Linked DNA regions of Homo sapiens: all the other regions are linked to region 1. The links are contacts of gene promoters, found by promoter capture Hi-C in blood cells and fetal thymus (Javierre and others, 2016). All regions are on one chromosome and are shown on one strand. The core of a region is centred on a gene start or on the middle of the fragment in contact, and the rest is flanking DNA. Distances in the headings are between cores, read along the strand shown.

Region 1 (3,989 bases), core at 734-3,233:
ACTGAAGAGGACTCGGGAGACTCCAAGGTGGGGTTGGAGGCGGCTTGGGAAGGTAGAGAAGACTGCAGCGCAGCGTTAGGGAGAGAGGTTTTCTCCCCTAGGCTGCAGCGCAAGTCTAGCCGGGAACTCAGCCCCGGAAATCGGGGGACCCTCGCCTGCTCCCAAGATGCGGTGAGCAATATAAATTCCTGCTCTCCACCAGCCCTTTTGAGAAACTTCAGCTACTGTGGTGGTGGTTCGGCTTGTTGTGGGTTTAGTTGCATGTTCCTCCTAGCCTAACCCTCTGTGACTTTTCTGGAAAACTGGAGGTAGGGGGATTCTTTCGCATGTCACAAATAGACAATATTTCCAAAGGGATCCTTTCTCTACTGTCCCAGTTGCGGAGGGCGTTCAGGGCGAGGAGGTCCGCTGGAGCTCTAAGATGACACCCCCGAAGGCCTCGTTTGCTGACGCCTTTCTCGGCCACCGCAGGCTTCAGCATAGTCGGATACTGGTCCTCCAAAACGAATCCGGAGACAAGTCCCGCAGGTGCCTAGAGCTTCAGTCCACACGCCACCCCCGTCCCTCACATTCCCGGTTATGAGAAAATTTTGGGGGTGCCTCGACCAGGAAATAGCGAAAAAGAGATCGGCAGACGGGAGAATGATAGCAGCTGGAGGAACGGCATTTCCCTCAAACTAGGGAAGAACGCACAGAGCTGGAGCCGGAGGCACCCAGGGAGTTGGGAGCAATCCCAGGAAATTCAGTCACCCGGCAATTGAGGGAAACTCCCTGTTCACAACTTCAGCTAGCCAGGGCAAATACTTGGGGTGCAGCGCTTTCATTTATTTGATTTTACTTTGCAGGGAAATCTAACACAGAGGTTACCCTGAACTCTAAAAGCTAGGGCCTAGCGCGCATCCGCGTTCTGACTCGCCGGCCCCGGGGCCCTCCTGAGATTAATCTGCGTTGCCCGGACTCCCACTGCCAGGGAAGGTCCAGGCAACTGGCTCTGGGGCTATTCCTAGCCCTCTGGGCTTGGCTCTATGGCGCCAGGGCAGCTCCAGGGTGTTGTCGAAAGTCTGGACCGGGAAGGGCATGGGTGCGGATTCCCCACAAAGGGAAAGCAATGCAGCGGGCCGGCAGGAGACGTACAAACGTAAACGTGCGACGCTAGCTAGGCGCAGCGGGCCTTTCAGATTTTGCTATTTGTGAAAAACAAATTGCGCCTCTGAAAGTAACCAACTCTAGGTCTATTTCACATCACCGACCTCCCTGTCTCACTCCCCCTCCCTCCACTACACACACCCAAACCCACACCCACCCACAAACACACAAACCGGCAGTGACAACAACCACCCATCCTTCAATAACAGCAACCAGAGACAGAGGAGAAAATAAAAAGCTGAGTTTCTTAGGCGTGGGGGTGCAAAACAGCCAGGCTCCTGCCTACTGCCCCTGCTCCCGTAGCTCACAGACCCATAATCCTGCATTTCTCTAACAAGTTGTTTATGGAGTTGCTTCTCCATTTGCCTACATCCCAAAATTCACCCCTCCCGGGTTTCTTCTGCCCCCTCCTGAGTCCCGGCCTGAAGGAGGGGGAGGGACGCGGGTGCGGGCGCGGGTGGGGGAGGGCGGACCCGACGCACAGGGCCAGCGCCGAGGCGCCCCCTCTCCGCCAGCGGTTGACGCCCCCGGATTATTTATCCGCAAAGTCCCGCGCGCGCCCATTGGGCCGAGGCCCGAGTGTCAGCGCGAGTCCCGGCTCGCCATTGGCTCCGCACACGTGCGGCCCTGACTCACGTGCTTCCGGTTTGAAGGCAAAAAGTGTGCCTGGGTGATTTTTTTTTTAAGCGAGAGAGTTTGTGCAAAGATCCGAGCTGTCAGAGATTTGAAAAAAAAAAAAAAAAAAAAAAAAAAAAAAACAGCCCGGCGCTGGCGGAGACGCGCTCTCCCTGCAAAAAAAGCAAAGGCGATTAAAGGCGCTGCCAGCCTCACGCTCTGGGCACAGCTGAGCGTGACACTCGGGGAAGTCAAACCCCTCACTACTGCCTAGGAAGATGGCTAGACTTTAAATACTATTTTTTTCCCTTTAAGAAAAAAATTATTGGAGCTTTTTTTCTTGCTTTCTTTTTCCTTTTCTTTTTCTTTTTTTCCTTCATTTTTTTGGCCGTGGCTTACTCCCCATTTAAATCAAATCATTGAATCTGGTTGCAGAAAGAAAAAAGAAATAGCCAAGTGTCTCCATATCTGGATGTCTACAAATTAGAGAGGGAGAGACAGCGAGATCTATCTGCTAGATAAGAACGAGCGATCCAGGCCAGACGCCTGAGCTTTTTTCCTGCACCCGCCCCGTGCCTTCGCTGAGGCTTCGCCTGCCTCCTTCCTCCGCGCACCCCCACGGGCCGCTGGCAAAGTGGGGTGGGGAGCGAGGCGGTGGGGGCGGGGGCCGGCGCGGCGGCCGGGGCGGCGGGGCGGCCGAGCATGGAAGAACAGCAGCCGGAACCTAAAAGTCAGCGCGACTCGGCCCTCGGCGCGGCGGCGGCGGCGACTCCGGGCGGCCTCAGCCTGAGCCTCAGTCCGGGCGCCAGCGGCAGCAGCGGCAGCGGCAGCGATGGAGACAGCGTGCCGGTGTCCCCGCAGCCTGCGCCCCCCTCGCCGCCCGCGGCGCCTTGCCTGCCGCCCCTGGCCCACCACCCGCACCTCCCCCCACACCCCCCGCCCCCGCCGCCTCAGCATCTCGCGGCGCCTGCTCACCAGCCGCAGCCAGCGGCCCAGCTGCACCGCACCACCAACTTTTTCATCGACAACATCCTGAGGCCGGACTTCGGCTGCAAAAAGGAGCAGCCGCCACCGCAGCTTCTGGTGGCTGCGGCGGCCAGAGGAGGCGCAGGAGGAGGAGGCCGGGTCGAGCGTGACAGAGGCCAGACTGCCGCAGGTAGAGACCCTGTCCACCCGTTGGGCACCCGGGCGCCAGGCGCTGCCTCGCTCCTGTGCGCCCCGGACGCGAACTGTGGCCCACCCGACGGCTCCCAGCCAGCCGCCGCCGGCGCGGGCGCGTCTAAAGCTGGGAACCCGGCTGCGGCGGCGGCGGCGGCCGCGGCGGCAGTGGCGGCGGCGGCGGCGGCCGCAGCAGCCAAGCCCTCGGACACCGGTGGCGGCGGCAGTGGAGGCGGCGCGGGGAGCCCCGGAGCGCAGGGCACCAAATACCCGGAGCACGGCAACCCGGCTATCCTACTTATGGGCTCAGCCAACGGCGGGCCCGTGGTCAAAACTGACTCGCAGCAGCCTCTCGTATGGCCCGCCTGGGTGTACTGCACACGTTATTCGGATCGTCCATCCTCCGGTGAGTACCCAACTCCGGGCTGCGCCATGCCTTCTGGCCCCGCGGACCGCCCCAGAACGCCAAGCTGCGGCGCTAGGGAGAGCAAACCCGGCCTCGGGTACTCCAGTCTCTCACGCCTGCTTCCTCACCCCAGTTCCAGTCACAACCGAATGTTCATCCAGCTATGCGATCCTGGCCTCTGCGGCCACCACCCGAGAAGCTACAGCTCGTGGCACAGGAGGCTCGGGTCTCGATTCTTTGATTTTGAACTCTGAATCCCTGGGGCCTTCTTTGTCTCTTATCTTTATTATTCTTAGGAAAAGTACATAGTCAGTGATTTTCTTTCCAGGGTGTTTAGATAAGGCAGGAAGGTGGGCCTAGTGATGTGTGTCTGAAATCCCACCAGCCTGATCGTCCGAAGGCCAGATTTGACCAGAGAAGGCCTTGTTCAGAAAAATTATATTCACTGTGTGTCCTTACAGACACAAACACCATCTCGATATTTTCTGCGGAGAGACCGTTTACATTGATAAACATGGGAAACACAGGAAGACAGGGAGGAAAGCGTCTGAAAGCCGTCCCTCTCCCCCGGCTGGGTAGCGAAAAGAGTCTGACCCGGGTGGGTAGAAACCAGGGAAAGGCAGTTGCCAAAAAGGTGGGTGCTGGCAGCCCCTGGTTTTCTGGA
Region 2 (3,989 bases), core at 383-2,882, 490 kb after region 1:
GTAAAATTTTGTGGCTGCTGTGGAAAATAGTATGGCAGTTTCTCAACAAATTAAACATGAAATTAACATACAATTCACCAATTCCACTTCTAGATAGATAACCAAAATAATTGTAAAGCAAGAACTCAAATAGATGTACACCAATGTTTATAAAAACATTATTCAACATCCAGAAGTGGAAATAACCAAAATGCCCAATAATAGACCAAAGAATAAACAAAACATAGTATGTACATACAATGGAATAATATCCAGCATTAAAAAAGAATAAATTCTGTTACATATAGCAAGATGAATGGACATTCACAACATCACACTAAGTGAAATAAGCCTGACACAAAAGGACAAATATAGTATGATTCCAGTTATATGAGGTACCTAGAACAGTCAAGTTCATAGAGACAGAAAGTAGAATCATGGTTATAAGGGGTTGGGGGAAAGGGGACATGGAGAGTTATCATTTGGTGGGTGCAGAGTTTCAATTTGGGGTAAGAAAGCTCTGGAGATGGATAGTGATGATGGTTGCACAACAGTGTGAACATACTTAATGCCACTGAATTGTACAGTTAAAAATTGCTAAATGGTAAATTTTATATGCATTTTACCACAATTATATATATGAAGGGTACATAGCAGTTTCTGCCTAATAATTTTGAAATCCACTGGGCATATGTCAGTTCCCCAACTCAAAGCAGGGCATATCCTTTGATTAGTACCAGTTCTGTTCCCTGTGATCAATTCCCTAATTACTCTGGGCTTAGCTGCATCCTTATAAGAAATGGCCCATATTTATAGCAGAATAGTTCTTTTAGCCTGCTTCTTTTTATTACAAATTTCACTGTCCCCTTTAGCCCGTGCTGGTGATATTTTTACTAATATGATCCTCTTAAAGACTCTGTGGATTTTCTATGAATCTGACTGAGTTTATCCCATGCCTCAAAGCCACTTCCAAATTCATTATGAGACTTATGTTTCTGCTGAGAGAATTTACCTTAAGATTCTTAAAAGCTTTTTTTGTTTAGCTGAATGGTCCACCAAGTACCACTTTAAATCTTTCTGAGGTCTAAACAATGAGTCTTTCAGCCACACTCTTATTTCATTTTAACCCTGAGGCTACTTTTACTGACAATACTGTATATTTGTTATTTTCCATGAGATTATTTATTCTTAGGATTTTTTTTTCTGCCATCTGGAAAAACTGACCTGAATTTTCTATATTTCTTCTAAATTCTGCTTAAAAACCAAACAGTTCAGTTTTCGTTCAATTTTCTCTTGCAACACTTCATTATATGCTTTTAAAAGAAGCTTGATAATATTTTTAGCAGTTTGCTTGGAAGTATTCTTAGCCAGATCCACAAGTTTACTAGGTAATTTTTCTTTTTCCAAGTTACCCCAGATGGCAGTCTTGCTAATTACTCTGACACTACATAACACTGTCTGCTCTTTTCTCCACTGTTCAATCCCTGCACTAAATGTTCACCATTTTTTCTAGCATTTATAAACTGCCTTCTTTTGCTGTTTTTCCACCATCTCCTTGCTGCCTTCATGGCCCCCTCCTGACATTCTGTCCCAAAGCCAGTACCACAGGTTTGAGATTTTTGTGATGACAACACATCCCTTTAGGACAAACCCCTGTTTTAATTATGTGTTGTTGCACAAAGTATATTTAAAACTTAGTTTCTTGAAACAATGATGTTTTAGTGTTGTTCATAATTCTGTGGGTTGGCTAGGCTCAGCTGGGTGGTTCTGTTCCTCCTGGTGTGAGCTGAGTTTACCCATACAGCTGCACTCAACTTGACTGGAACAACAAATTAGGCCTGTCTCTCATGTCTGGCATTTGATGCTGGCAATCACCTGGGTGCCATTCCTCTCCTCTGTGGCCTCTCTTTTCCAGTAGTCTAAATTAGCATTTTTGTAACATGGTGTCTGCATTCCAAAAGAGAAAAAGTAAGAAGCTTCCAGGTTTTTTTGTTTTTTTCCTTTGAGATGGAGTCTCGCTCTATGGCCCAGACTGGAGTGCAATGGTGTGATCTCGGCTCACTGCAACCTCCACCTCCCGGGTTCAAGCAATTCTCCTGCCTCAGCCTCCTGAGTAGCTGGGATTACAGGCATGCGCCACCATGCCCGGCTAATTTTTTTTTATTTTTAGTGGAGATGGGGTTTCACCATGTTGGTCAGGCTGGTCTCGAACTCCTGACCTCGTGATCCGCCCACCTCAGCCTCCCAAAGTGCTGGGATTACAGATGTGAGCCATCATGCCCAGCTTCTTCCAGGTCTTTAAGAACTAGGACTGAAATCAGCATTTCTTCTACATTCTATCTTTCAAAGCTAGTCACAAAACCAGTCAAGTTTCAGTGAAAGGATAAAACACAACCTAATAAAAATAATCATGTCTATTACATCAAATATAGGATATAAGTTTATTTATACACAATGATGACACAATTTTTATCTCTTATTGTTGTTTATTTTATAAGCTTATTGGAAGAGATCTTTTAGACATAACTAGCCATATTTTTTATCAACTATCACTATTTTACAAACAGAAAAAACTATAATAAATTATTCAAGGCATTTTCAAAATTCCTTCGTATTCACAGTCTGATTTCAGAGTCAACATTTATGTTTATCTCACAATATCATCCTCTATACCATCAGGTGCATTGATGAGGCAGTATTTTTTTTTTTTTAGACGGAGTTTCGCTCCTGTTGCCCAGGCTGGAGTGCAATGGCGTGATCTCGGCTCACTGCAACCTCTGCCTCCCAGGTTCAAGCGATTCTCCTGCTTCAGCCTCCCAAGTAGCTGGAATTACAGGCACCTGCCACCACACCCAGCTAATTTTTGTATTTTTAGTAGAGACCGGTTTCACTGCATTGGCCAGGCTGGTCTTGAACTCCTGACCTCAGGTGATCCACCTGCCTTGGCCTCCTAAAGTGCTGGGATTACAGACATGAGCCACCGCACCCGGCCTGAGGCAGCATTTCTTAAAAGAGAATTCCACTATTCTATCTGGAATTTTTCTTCATGCTGCTAACATGCATTCTTCAAGTTTTCATGCTGATCTTTTCTTGGTTGAATGAGAGGCAGCATGAACCAGTCACATCATTCCTTTGTTGCACTGAATTTCCTTTAGAGAGATGTGGCAATTCTTCTTGCCTTGGGTTGCACTACTTGGCCTATTTTAGACAATGTTTTTGCAAATATCTCAGAGACAGAATTTTCCACAGCTTCATTTGTTTGGGGATCCCTTCCTTTCAAAGGACCAAGTAGTTTGGTCTTTATTTTGCAAGAAAATGTGGAATTAAGGCAATTTCACAGTTATGAGTATTTGCTCTACAGATAACAATTTTCTCCCACCACTTTGTTTCTGTGCCTTCTGCCTTTACTGTAACTTTTTGCATCAATGTCAAGTCAGAGTGTAATCTTTTAAAATATATTTAAAATGACAATTAAACTCTACAAATATAATGCCAAGGGTGCACTTAACTGAAGTGATGATAATATGAGTAGTAATAACCAAGTTCATGCCTATGCAGTCAATGGCAACTATGCCTTGAATGTTGCCTGGCTCTCAGTGTTAAATACCATAGATTGTAATGTGCGTCTCAATTTCAGAGACGTTAAAATATATATGTAATATTCATGGAGTCTCTTCAGGGTATCCATTGGTGAGCTAGGGGCTGTCTGATGGATATATTTTAAAGATCTAAATGCAGTGCTTGTTCTCAGGGGATGTAACAAGAAAAGTTCCCCAAATGAAATAGATAACCATGATAAATGGCACATAATACATTTTAAAGTAAATGACACAATTAGTAACAGCTATAGAAATGACAAGGCATGTCAGAACTGAAAGGGATGTGAATGGCAGTGGCCATTCATAGTGACTTTACATTGTGTTGACTGTTTATATCTTTTCCTTATTTTCTATTTTTTGTATTTTTCTTATTCATATATAAAAACTTTCATATATTCAAGATATTGATAC
Region 3 (3,989 bases), core at 664-3,163, 310 kb before region 1:
GGTAAAATGCACTTGGCAAACACCCTACACTTGCAAAACCTTTTTTTTTTCCTCATTGGTGCGGTGGGAAAATGATCACTAATCCACAGTAACATGAGGAATGAATGAAGGAGCACGTGCAAAGTGCCTGATGCATACGTAGTAGGTGCCAATAAATGTGCTCCTTCTCTCCTTGGTAAAGTTGGCTTCCGGCTAGGCTCAGTCATCCTTTCCACAAATATATGTGGAGAGAACAGGCTAGAGCAACGAGGTTGGGAGTGGGGAAATGACCCAGGGTGATCAGAGGACAAAAATAGATTTTAATTAACCCGTAAGAACCTAGTGCAGGACAAATGAGAGTTAGCTTCAAAGCAATAGCCTTAGGTGGGTGCACTGTTGTTCCAGAGATGCTGATGCTACACCAAACACTGACACCAGCCCTTAGATTCTCCCCCCAGGACAGGCCTGGTGTGATTCCCATGTTGGGGGTGCTAGGGCAGGAGGCGGCCTTTTAAGGAAACTGAGTCTCAGGGACAGGAACCACCTGGCAAAATCACACAGCTACTCAGGGCAAGAGCAGAAGCTGGGGCTTTGATTTCTCCGCTGGAAGTCTCTCCCACACCGGCGGGCCTCTCATCCTTCCTTAGCCTCACATGCTACATTGGAGATAGACTATTCTGCTCTCATCTGAGGCCATGGTTTATTCAAGACTGGCTCAGAATGGCTTTGGACTATTTGGACTATTTTCTAAAATAACTAAACCCATCTCAGGAGGAGGAAGCTGGGGATGTCCAAGGGAATGTGCCCATGCATCTGCCTGGCAGTGGCCGGGCTTGGAGTAGAAGCTGAGTGCACCATGATCACTGCCAAGTGCCGGCATCAAGCATTTGGTTTCTACACCAGCTTCACGCAGAGGACAAGGGCCAGCCATTTTCTGGTGGAAGAAAAGGTCTGAGGCGAATATTCCTTTTTTTTTTTTTTTTTTTTGAGATGGACTTTTGCTTTTGTTGCCCAGGCTGGAGTGCAATGGCACGATCCCGCCTCACCGCAACCTCTGCCTCTCTGGTTCAAGCGACTCTCCTGCCTCAGCCTTCCGCGTAGCTGGGATTACGGGCATGCACCACCATGCCCAGTTAATTTTGTGTTTTTAGTACAGACGGGGTTTCATCATGTTGGTCAGGCTGGTCTCAAACTCCCAACCTCAGGTGATCTGCCCGCTTCGGCCTCCCAAAGTGTTGGGATCACAGGCGTGAGCCACTGCGCCCGGCCGCAAATATTCTTGTATTGGGAGCCTTGGGCTTTTTAGAGTCACCTCAGAGGTTAGTGGGGTGCTCTACGGGAGCCTGTTTAAGAGTCTGGAGTCCTTAGTCTAGGTTTGCGAAAGATCTTCCAGAAGCGAGATCTATTCAATTCTGAAGAAATAACTCAGGAGGTCTTTCAGAAACTCCTTCCCGCTGGACCTCACGGGACTCTCCTGGACTCGGTGGGTTGAGGTTTGATCCTCTTTGCAGGCCAGGGGATGGATTAGGTGACCCCAGAGGAGCCCTGCTGACACCTGGATTCCAGCTGCTTTCGTGGCCATGTGGGGGTGGCTGTGCGTGCCCCGCCACTGCGTGCGTGGGTGTCTGTGTGTGTTATCGGTGGGGGGCGCGTGAGTGTGGCCGCGGGTGGGTGTGTCCGATGTGCCCCGGCTTGGGACCGCGCCCGCTGCGCCCACTTGTGGCTCCTGGGAGCCGCCAGGGGGAACCGCGCCTTCACCGCCTCTGCCGAGGACGCCGCCAGATAGGAGGCTGATGACATGAGGGCTCCGTCTCCCGAGTGATGGCAGCGCGCGCTGCTTCGCCGCCTCCGCCGCTCAGCCCCGGACTCCTTACGTCAGGGTAGCGGGGTCCCCCCTCCGCGCGGGAGCCAGCGAACAGCGAGAGAGCACAGCAGAGCGCGCCGCGGAGCCGGGGCGCCCTCACTGCGCTAGGAGCCCCACTAAACCCAGCGGAGCGGAGCCTGGCGGGAGGCAGCGCCGCGGAGCCAGCGCCGGACGCCGCAAGCAGACTCCCCGGCCAGCGCAAGCACTCCCTGGCCGGCGCCGGACCCTCGGGGCGCCGGATTCGTCTTGTGTGCCCCACGTCATGCGCGCGGGCGTCCGCGGCTCTCCCGACCAGCCCCAGCGCGGTGGGCCCAGGCTCAGAGGTCCCGGCGCCTCTCGCTGAAGTAGTTGGGTAGCCGGGGCTGGGGGTCGCCACGTCGGGGGCGCGGCCAGGACCCGCGGAGCCGGTCCCCGAGCGCGGGGAGCGGGGCCGCCCGCGCCGCCCCACCATTACCTCCCCGGGCGGCAAGGAGGAGCTGGTGGCGGTCGCCTCCCGGCTGTGGCAGCGGCGGCGGCGTGCCTGCCTGGCGGCCGTCGGCGTACTCTTGGCCATGGCGCTCGGGCTGCTCATCGCCGTGCCGCTGCTGCTGCAGGCGGCGCCCCGAGGCGCCGCGCACTATGAGATGATGGGCACCTGCCGCATGATCTGCGACCCTTACACTGCCGCGCCCGGCGGGGAGCCCCCGGGTGCAAAGGCGCAGCCACCCGGACCCAGCACCGCCGCCCTGGAAGTCATGCAGGACCTCAGCGCCAACCCTCCTCCTCCTTTCATCCAGGGACCCAAGGGCGACCCGGGGCGACCGGGCAAGCCAGGGCCGCGGGGGCCCCCTGGAGAGCCGGGCCCGCCTGGACCCAGGGGCCCTCCGGGAGAGAAGGGCGACTCGGGGCGGCCCGGGCTGCCAGGGCTGCAACTGACGGCGGGCACGGCCAGCGGCGTCGGGGTGGTGGGCGGCGGGGCCGGGGTAGGTGGCGATTCCGAGGGTGAAGTGACCAGTGCGCTGAGCGCCACCTTCAGCGGCCCCAAGATCGCCTTCTATGTGGGTCTCAAGAGCCCCCACGAAGGCTATGAGGTGCTGAAGTTCGATGACGTGGTCACCAACCTCGGCAATCACTATGACCCCACCACGGGCAAGTTCAGCTGCCAGGTACGCGGCATCTACTTCTTCACCTACCACATCCTCATGCGCGGCGGCGACGGCACCAGCATGTGGGCGGACCTCTGCAAGAACGGGCAGGTCAGTGACCCCTACACTCACCGGCCCCCGTAAACCCTCGCCCGCGCCCTGAACCTCCCAGGGAACCAGCCTCCTTTCTCTCCACCCGCGGGCTACCCTGCGAGCCCCGGGAATGAACGCGCCTCGGTGCCACAGTATCTCCGCTTCCCGATGCGCCGAGGCCGCGCTCACCGGGACGTAGAGCCAAATGTTGGGCCTTGAGAGCCCAGAGACCCCCATACCTAAACTACACTCCTTGGCCACTTGCGTCCCTGCCTGCCTCTCCGTGGGCTTCTCGGAAACCTCAGTTCTTTAGTTCTCTCCAGGTCGCCCCCTTGCCCTGCAGCCTCCTTTCCTCTTGGCCCTGGCCCCTGGCTCCCACCCTTCCACTCTGGGTCAGTGTTCATGAAGCTTCCCCTCTCCCTATTTCCCAGACTCGTCGGCGCGAGGAGGAGGGGGGACCTGGAAGGAGTTGACTAAGTTGGAGAGAGAACATGGAGCTGGGGTGGGAGTGTGGACCCTGAAGCAGCAGGCGGGAGGCCCGTGAGTGGCGCGCCTGGTGTGGGCTGAGCAAAGGCGCGGGAAGAGGTGCCCCGGCTCACCTGCTCCCACCGCTTGTCCCCAGGTCCGGGCCAGCGCCATTGCACAGGACGCCGACCAGAACTACGACTACGCCAGTAACAGCGTGGTGCTGCACTTGGATTCAGGGGACGAAGTGTATGTGAAGCTGGATGGCGGGAAGGCTCACGGAGGCAATAATAACAAGTACAGCACGTTCTCGGGCTTTCTTCTGTACCCGGATTAGGGGCGCGGGGGGTGCGAGGCGGGGTGGCTGCAGGCCGCCCGGTCTCCGCCCGGGCGCGGCTCCTTGGCAAAGGCCACTCTCGATTCATAACACTTCCTGACATCTCCTTTGGAAAAGACAAATCCCT

What was found. The method cuts DNA at HindIII sites, captures the fragments that hold promoters and counts their contacts. A CHiCAGO score of 5 or more calls a contact.
Region 2: a fragment that was not itself captured here is called in contact with the fragment with the promoter of EN1 in region 1 in 1 of 17 cell types (endothelial precursors); the score reaches 5.1 in endothelial precursors.
Region 3: a contact is called between the fragment with the promoter of C1QL2 here and the fragment with the promoter of EN1 in region 1, in 1 of 17 cell types (monocytes). The highest score is 8.0, in monocytes.

What each region holds. Positions count from the first base shown.
Region 1 is chr2:118,845,642-118,849,630 of GRCh38, reverse strand. It overlaps EN1 (engrailed homeobox 1), which reads left to right and starts at 1,983. Exons shown (of 2, transcript NM_001426.4): 1 at 1,983-3,325. The coding sequence starts at 2,464. RefSeq lists an enhancer at 3,665-3,989. The HindIII fragment of the contact is 11,695 bases long and covers 1-3,989 here.
Region 2 is chr2:118,353,653-118,357,641 of GRCh38, reverse strand. No RefSeq gene overlaps it. Among named protein-coding and RNA genes, the nearest start is that of THORLNC, 170 kb to the right of the region's middle. The HindIII fragment of the contact is 650 bases long and covers 1,308-1,957 here.
Region 3 is chr2:119,156,675-119,160,663 of GRCh38, reverse strand. C1QL2 (complement C1q like 2) reads left to right here and starts at 1,913. Exons shown (of 2, transcript NM_182528.4): 1 at 1,913-3,078; 2 at 3,683-3,989. The coding sequence starts at 2,395. The coding sequence ends at 3,862. RefSeq lists an enhancer at 2,735-3,545. The HindIII fragment of the contact is 3,837 bases long and covers 1-3,470 here.